Regions from separate parts of the Homo sapiens genome. Here region 1 is linked to region 2. Evidence: promoter capture Hi-C in 16 types of primary human blood cells and fetal thymus (Javierre and others, 2016). All regions are on one chromosome and are shown on one strand. Each heading gives the region's core, a stretch centred on a gene start or on the middle of the fragment in contact. The rest is flanking DNA. Distances are from core to core; before and after follow the strand shown.

Region 1 (4,237 bases), core at 1,304-3,803, 4.0 Mb after region 2:
ATTATACTGCTTCATCCTTTCAGGAATAATCCTAAAAAGAAGGGGAGGGGTCTCTATATTTTTCATTTAAATTGATTTTTTTTTTTCAATTTAAGCTTAGGAGGATTTAAGCTTAGAATAGATGGGGATGAGAATGAAATCACAGAAGAAAGCAGAAGTAAGACAGGGTGAGAGATTTTTGACAATATCAGTTGAGAAAATGGTTCATTCATTCATTTTGTTTGTTTTTTGGTTTGTTATTGCTGTTGTTATTTGAGATAGGGTCTCCCTTTGTTGTCCCGGCTAGAGTGCAGTGGCATGATCACGGCTCACTGCAGCCTCAACTTTCCAGGCTCCAGCGATTCTCCCACCTCAGCCTCCCAAAAGCCAGGATTACACTGAGCCCGGCTGGCTCAGCTACTCCTAAAGCCAGCTGTTCTAGGCTTATCAGTATGTAACCCAATACATTACTTTTCCGAAATCAGTTTGAGTTGAGTTTTCTATTCCTTACACAGAAAGAACTCTAAATGATACACTTATATACCACTTGTAGAGAACAAGCCAAGCCATTCATTTGCGATGCCAGTTATCCTCCTTCTATTTTTTTCTTACAAATCCTTGCTAAGGAAACTGTAGATAATTAATTTGGATATTACATTCTGTGTGCATTTGGACACCATTCTTTTTTTTTTCTTTTTTTTTTTTTTGAGATGGAGTTTTGTTCTCATTGCCCAGGCTGGAATGCAATGGCATGATCTCGGCTCACCGCAACTTCCGCCTCCCAGGTTCAAGCGATTCTCCTGGCATAGCTTCCCAAGTAGCTGGGATTACAGGCACATGCCACCATGCCGAGCTAATTTTGTATTTTTAGTAGAGGTGGGGTTTCTCCATGTTAGCCAGGCCGGTCTCCAACTCCCGACCTCAGGTGATCCACCTGCCACAGCCTCCCAAAATGCTGGGATTACAGGCATGAGCCACCACACCTGGCCTGGACCCTATTCTCATTGGCCACATCTGACCCAACTAAACAGCAGCATACCAGGAAAAATGTTGTTTAGCTGGAACTGAGCAGATCTTCTCAAAAATTGAAACTGGAGCCCAGCACAGTAGCACACACCTGTAGTCTCAATCATGAGGAGAGAGGATTGCTTGTGTGTGTGTGTGTGTTTGCGTGTGTATGCATGGCCATCATTATATATATATATATATATATATATATATATATATACACACACATAAATACATATACATACATAAATATATATATATATACAATGCCATTATATAGTATATAATGGCATAAAATATATAAATATAATACATATAATGCCATTATATATATAATATATGTGAATATATATAATATATATGTGTATATAGAGAGAAGAAGATAGAGAGAGGAAGCACATTAACACAGAATCTAGAGATCAAGGCTGGACTACCCAGCAAGGTGGAGTAACTGAAGTTTACCAAGTTAAGTCAGGACTCTGAAAGGATGTTAAAGTGCTCCCTTGTTAGTAATAGTCCTAGGCTCTTGACAGAAGCAAACATAGTTCCCATGGAGAAAAGAATCCCTAATTTAGGCTTCAGGATTCTGATATCAAATGTGAGCTTAAAATTTAAAAATGCAGGCCAGGCATGATGGCTCACGCCTGTAATCCCAGCGCTCTGGGAGGCTGAGGCGGGTGGATCACCTGAGATCAGGAGTTTGAAACCAGCCTGACCAACATGGAGAAACCCTGTCTCTACTAAAAATACAAAACTTAGCCAGGTGTGGTGGCACTCACCTGTAGTCCCAGCTATTTGGGAGGCTGAGGCAGGAGAATTGCCTGAACCCAGGAGGCGGAGGTTGCAGTGAGCCAAGATGGCACCACTGCACTCCACCCTGGGTGACACAGCGAGACTTAGTCAAAAAAAAAAATTGACCGGGCAATGTGGCTCACACCTGTAATTCCAGCACTTTGGGAGGCTGAGGCAAGCGGATCACCAGAGGTCAGGAGTTTGAGTCCAGCCTGACCAACATGGAGAAATCCCGTCTCTACTAAAAATACAAAAAATTAGCCAAGCATGGTGGTGCATGCCTATAATCCCAGCTACTCAGGAGGTTGAGGCAGGAGAATCGCTTGAACCTGGAAGGTGGAGGGTGTGGTGAGCCAAGATCACAGCATTGCACTCCAGCCTGGGTAACAAGAGTGAAACTCTGTCTTAAAAAAAAAAAAAAAAAGGCCAAGGGCCAGGCATGGCGGCTCACACCTCTAATCCCAGCACTTTGGGAGGCCGAGGAGGTGGATTGCTTTGAGCTCAGGAGTTCAAGACCAGCCTGGCCCACATGGTGAAACCCCATCTCCACTAAAGTACAAAAATTAGCCGTGCGTGGTGGCACATGCCTGTGGTCCCAGCTACTCAGGAGGCTGAGGCAGGAGAATCAGGTGAACTTGGGAGGTGGAGGTTGCAGTGAGCTGAAATCGCTCCACTGCACTCCAGCCTGGGCAACAGAGTGAGACTGTCTAAAAAAAAATTAAAGTGCCAAGAATATTAGGAATGAGCCACCATAAATGCAGCATCACACACACATACACACATGTGCACACACAAAACCAACAGACTTAAATTCCCAATTCAGATATTGAAATATTAGATATGGAATATAAAAAGACTACATAGGAAATCTTTAAAGGGATTTTTCTTAGGCTGAGGACAGTGGCTAACGCCTATAATCCCAGTGCATTGCGAGGCCAAGACAGGAGGATCACTTGAGTCTTGGAGTTTGAGACCAGTCTGGGCAACATAGGGAGACTCTGTTTCTAAAAAAATTTTTTTTGTAATTAGCCAGGCATGGTGGGGCACAGGTCAAGGCTGCATGAACCATGATCACACCATTGTACTTCACCCTGGGTGACAGAGTGAGACCCTGTCCCACTCTGTAGAAGAAATAAGTAAATAAATAAATAAATTAGTCATCAATAGATGTTGAATTTTATGGAATTCTTTTTTAGCAATTGTTGAAATGAACATATTAATTATCAATGATAAAACCTTAAAACTTTGAGAACATCTTATGAATTCATGATAGGGAAAGATTTCTTTTTTCTTTTTTCTTTTTTTTTTCTTTTTTTTGAGACAGAGTTTTACTTTGTCACCCAGGCCGGAGTGCAGTGGCGTGATCTTGGCTCACTGCAACCTCCGCCTTCCAAGTTCAAGGAATTCTCCTGCCTCAGCCTCCGGAGTAGCTGGGATTACAGGCGCCCACAACCACGCCCAGCTAATTTTCGTATTTTTAATAGAGACGGGGTTTCACCTTGTTGGCCAGGCTGGTCTCGAACTCCTGACCTCAAAAGTGATCTGCCCGCCTCGGCCTCTCAAAGTGCTAGGATTACAGCCATGAGCCACTGTGCCCCGACAGGAAGGATTTCTTAAGGAAGATACTATAAGCATAACCTAAACAGAAAAGATTGACAAATCCAACTATATTAAGAACTTTTGATATATTGAAAGTCACCATCAAAAAAAAATGTTGGCCGGGCGCGGTGGGTCACGCCTGTAATCCTAGCACTTTGGGAGGCCAAGGCGGGTGGATCACGAGGTCAGGAGATCAAGACCATCCTGGCTAACACAGTGAAACCCTGTCTCTACTAAAAATACAAAAAAATTAGCCAGACGTGGTGGCGGGCGCCTGTAGTCCCAGCTACTCGGGAGGCTGAGGCAGGAGAATGGCGTGAACCCGGGAGGTGGAGCTGGCAGTGAGCTGAGATCGTGCCACTGCACTCTAGCCTGGGTGACAGAGCAAGACTCTGTCTCAAAAAAAAAAAAAAAAAAAAAAAATCTTGAATATGGAACATGAGCACAGGGGAAGGAAATAGCATTGCACTTATAAGCACTGCACTTTAAGTAGAAAATACAATGTCTTAAGTAAAACTGTATTTAATATTGGCAAAAAAGACCAGGCACAGTGGCTCACGCCTGTAATCCCAGCACTTTGGGAGGCCGAGGCGGGCGGATCACAAGGTTAGGAGATCGAGACCATCCTGGCTAACACGGTAAAACCCCGTCTCTACTAAAAAATACAAAAAATTAGCCGGGCGTGGTGGCGGGCGCCTGTAGTCCCAGCTACTCGGGAGGCTGAGGCAGGAGAATGCTGTGAACCCGGGAGGCGGAGCTTGCAGTGAGCTGAGATTGCGCCACTGCACTCCAGCCTGGGCGACAGAGCGAGACTCCATCTCAAAAAAAAAAAAAAAAATACAAACATTAGCCGGGCATG
Region 2 (4,157 bases), core at 1,658-4,157:
GCTCTGGAAGTCAAGTGTCAAAATAAAAGTAAGTATCTCTTGTTGCTTCCACTGAACTTTATTGCAATTACTAGTAATAAGAGTGATAATAGTGATCCTCACAATTTATGCAGTTTACTAAGTACTGTCACATGTCAACCAGCAATAGTACCAACACTAGTATCAATACTAATAATAACTAACACTAACTGTGAGTCCAACACTGCTCTCCATTCTGTATGGTGTATTTAAGTTACAGTCTGGTAGTGACAGATCTACAACTTCTGTATATAGAACTCAGTGGTACAAATGCGCTTGGAAGGGGAGGCTGGGGGTTGGTTATGAAGGTGTATTGGCATAGTACTTACGTAAGATTGTATGTAACACCAAATCAACTGGGGCTGATGGGAATTTTGAGCACCCCAAACCACCTCTGCAAGCCTGAGCTTGTCAAAGACACCTCAAATCAGATTTACTGGATTCAAATCCCAGCCCCATCACTAATGGCTGTAGGCAAGTTATATAGCCTCTTTACTTTCCTGGTTTGTAAAATGGAGGTAAAAGAATCTACCCTGTAGATAATATTAAGGGTTTAATACTGTAATAGGCCGGTCACGGTGGGTCATGCCTGTAATCCCAGCACTTTGGGAGGCTGAGGCGGGAGGATCACCTGAGGTCAGGAGTTCGAGACCAGCCTGGCCAACATGGTGAAAGTCCGTCTCTACTAAAAATACAAAAATGAGCTGGGTGTGGTGGCGGGCGCCTGTATCCCCAGGTACTTGGGAGACTGAGGCAGGAGAATTGCTTGAACCTGGGAGGTGGAGGTTGCAGTGAGCTGAGATTGCGTCACTGTACTCCAGCCTGGGTGACAGAGTGGACTCTGTCTCAAAACAACAACAAAATACTATAGATAATATCCCCTTAATAATGTAGATAATATTAAGGGTGATGCAAGTAAAGCCACCTAGTTTACTAAGGTCCCACGGCAAGTCTAAGTAAGCGTTATCTCTTCTTATGACAAGAAACAAATTGAGGCCGGGTGAGGTGGCTCATGCCTGTAATCCCAACACTTTGGGAGGCCAAGGTGGGTGCATCACTTGGGCCCAGGAGTTTGAGACCAGCCTGGGCAACACGGCAAAACCCCATCCCTTTCCAAAAATACAAAAAAATTGGCCAGGTGTAATGGCACATGCCTGTAGTCCCAGCTACTAGGGAGGCTGAGGTGGGAGGATTACTTGAGCCTGGGAGGTCAGGCTGCTGCCAGCCGCGAGTGTGCCACTGCACTCCAGCCTGGGCAACAGAACAAGATCCTATCTCAAAAAAACAAAAAACCGAAGTTGAAATCTCAAACAACCCTAACAACCTGGGAGCTATCATTCCATTCTCTTTTCCATGGAAAAGAGAGATTTTGTGGGTAACTAGCTTAAGGGTGGAGAGCCAGTTAGTGATGGAGAGGAAATTTCAATCTGGTGGGCCACACTTCAGAATCCGAAATCCCATTATATTGCTTTCCCTTCTCCAGCCTTCCCTGGGATTATCTCAGTTTTCATGAAATAAAAAAAAAAAAAAAAGCAAACCCAATAATTAGAATAATCAATAGAAATGCCCCAACTAGAGCTATGACCAACATATCCATCGTGCCATAAGCAATACTGATGAGCAGTGATCTTGTAAGGCAGAAGAAATCACGGCCTTGGCCGGGCGTGGTGGTTCATGCTTGTAATCCCAGCACTTTGGAAGGCCGAGGCGGGAGGATCACCTGAGGTCAGGAGTTCAAGACCAGCTGGCTAACATGGTGAAACCATGTCTCTACAAAAATACAAAAAATTAGCTGGGCCTGATGGCGGGTGCCGGTAATCACAGCTACTTGGGAGGCTGAGGCGGAAGAATCGCTTGAACCTGCGAGGCAGAGGTTGCAGTGAGCCGAGATCGCGCCATTTTGCACTCCAGCCTGGGCGACAGAGCAAGACTCCGTCTTAAAAAAAAAAAAAAAAAAAAATCACGGCCTTGTTCCGCCTTCTGGGGCAACATGGAGTGAGATCACAGCGCCTGAGAAAGAACTTTGAAAACTGCGGCTGTGCTTTACAAAAATGTATCAGTATTATTAAATGCTGCCTCCACCTTTTAAAAATCAAACTCTAGAAAAAACACTCACCTGTTTGGCCTCTCCGGCCCCTCCCCCTCCCTGCCCTGAACTGCAGCTGTGCGCAGCCAGTTGCCTGTTTTCCTTAAAGGCCTCGGGGTGCTCGTATCTTCTTCAGACGTTCAGCCAAAATTTTTAAAGTGCGGCTGGGGGGAAGGGTAGCGCACTCTGAATTCATTTAGCTCTATCGTTGAAGCCCGGGTTCCTAGATCAGGGCACAAAAACAAATAGAAAAGACAATTTCTGGAAGATTGGAAAACAGCTAATTTTGCAGGTGCTTCGGCATCAGTGGTGGCGATGAATTTAACATCCATGCCGGGGGGGATAAGGTTCAACCGCAGATGAAATGGTTAATACCTTATACGAAATTCACGGCGAAAAATCCTGAAACAGGACATTTAAATTCACTGCCGAGGCTTGGGGGTGGGGTGGGGAGCAGGGATCGGAAACGACGCTAGTGGTTCTTAAATGCGTTTTTACTTGGGAATGCCCGGCAGGGAAAGGAAAGGTCATCGTCTGTTTAATTTCCACCCCCAGCTCTGGACTTCCAGCATTAGCTCGCCGGGCCTCAGCTGTTGTACACACACGGCGAGGGGGGAGGGGAGGGCGGAGGCGCGGAGGAGGGGCCGGCTGGGAGGAATCTGGGCGTCCTGCCGCGCATGCGCCTTGCCTGAGCAACAAGTGGGCTCCACAGAGGAAGTGTAAAGGGGAGGGGGAAGAACTGGTGCAGAGCATGGCGGTGACGTCAGCGCTCCGCCCGGGCGGCATCCCGCGCGGCCAAGCCGGGGACAGCGCGAGCCGCAGCCGGAGCAGGAGCGCCGAGACGCGCCTCCGGAACGTAGAGTAACAATCACAACCCCACATTCCGGGCGAGCGTGAGCACGAGCGGGAAGGGATGCGACCCGGGCCGAGGCGCCGCGCGAGCGCCCTGCAGCCAACGTGAGCGCCGCCAGCCGCGGCGGCCCGGGCGCCGGCCAGGCCTGGGGGCGGCGGGAGCCTGCGTGCGTGCACTCCTCTCCTCTGCTCTCGTGCGTCCTGGAAGCAGTGGCCGCGGCGGCTCCCTCCGGGGTGCAAACCCAGTCGCCGCCAGCAGAACGGCCGACGCTGCGGAGGGGAGAAGGTCCTTTCTCGGCTGCCACCCCCTCCCCCGGTCCTCCGGGGAAGCAGCGGCTTCAGCAAGATTGGACCCGGGCACCGGGTGGCACTGAACCCTCTGGCCCTCGCCCCAGGGGGCCCGTCGGGGAGAGGACGCAGCTCGTAGGGGGGTCCCCGGGGAGAGGAAGAGACAGCCCCTTTCGAGCTTCCACGCACCAGCCACTCCGGGGAGGGGGCCAAGAGGCAACGGCGGCCACCACCGGGCACCCTCGCCCCCTCCCCTCGGGCCGGGAGCTTCCAGCCCAAGTCTGCAGCACCAGGAAGAAGGCGCCTGAGCTCCCCTCGCGACGAGTCAACCGCAGTAGGAGGTGGGGGCGAAGAGAGGGCTGAACCCGTCCGCTGCCCGGGCGGTGGAGCCCCCACGGCGAGGCGCTGCGCCGGCGGTGGAGACTCGCGTTCCCTCCAGCCCCTGGGGCAGAACTTTCTCGCCCCCCCTCCTCCCTCCCCCGCAGTCGGACTCCCTCCCCAGCCGGCCAGTCCTCCCGGAGGAGAAGGCGCCGCGGAGACAGCCCGGGCGGGGGCCTACCTTCCCCAGGGCAGGCATCATGTCGGCGGCGCAGGTGTCCTCGTCCCGGAGACAATCTTGCTACCTGTGCGACCTGCCCCGCATGCCCTGGGCCATGATCTGGGACTTCTCGGAACCCGTATGCCGCGGTTGCGTCAACTACGAGGGCGCTGATCGCATCGAATTCGTGATCGAGACAGCGCGCCAGCTGAAGCGGGCGCACGGCTGCTTCCAGGACGGCCGCTCCCCCGGGCCGCCGCCGCCCGTCGGGGTCAAGACAGTGGCCCTGTCGGCTAAGGAAGCGGCGGCGGCGGCGGCAGCAGCGGCGGCCGCCGCCGCCGCCGCGCAACAGCAACAGCAACAGCAGCAGCAGCA

The links. Contacts are between HindIII fragments. The CHiCAGO score rates a contact against its expected background, and 5 or more counts as called.
Region 1: a contact is called between a fragment that was not itself captured here and the fragment with the promoter of IRF2BPL in region 2, in 1 of 17 cell types (neutrophils). The highest score is 7.1, in neutrophils.

Annotation. Positions count from the first base shown.
Region 1 is chr14:73,051,134-73,055,370 of GRCh38, reverse strand. No RefSeq gene overlaps it. Among named protein-coding and RNA genes, the nearest start is that of RBM25, 5.3 kb to the left of the region's middle. The HindIII fragment of the contact is 4,879 bases long and covers 114-4,237 here.
Region 2 is chr14:77,027,458-77,031,614 of GRCh38, reverse strand. IRF2BPL (interferon regulatory factor 2 binding protein like) reads left to right here and starts at 2,907. Exons shown (of 1, transcript NM_024496.4): 1 at 2,907-4,157. The coding sequence starts at 3,823. It overlaps LOC107984638 (a long non-coding RNA gene), which reads right to left and starts at 4,147. Exons shown (of 4, transcript NR_190002.1): 1 at 3,804-4,147; 2 at 2,135-2,327; 3 at 1,879-1,954; 4 at 43-1,788. It overlaps LOC105370579 (a long non-coding RNA gene), which reads left to right. Exons shown (of 2, transcript NR_169510.1): 2 at 1-56. RefSeq lists an enhancer at 1,334-1,854 and silencers at 2,618-2,747, 2,948-3,157, 3,278-3,777. The HindIII fragment of the contact is 11,624 bases long and covers 1-4,157 here.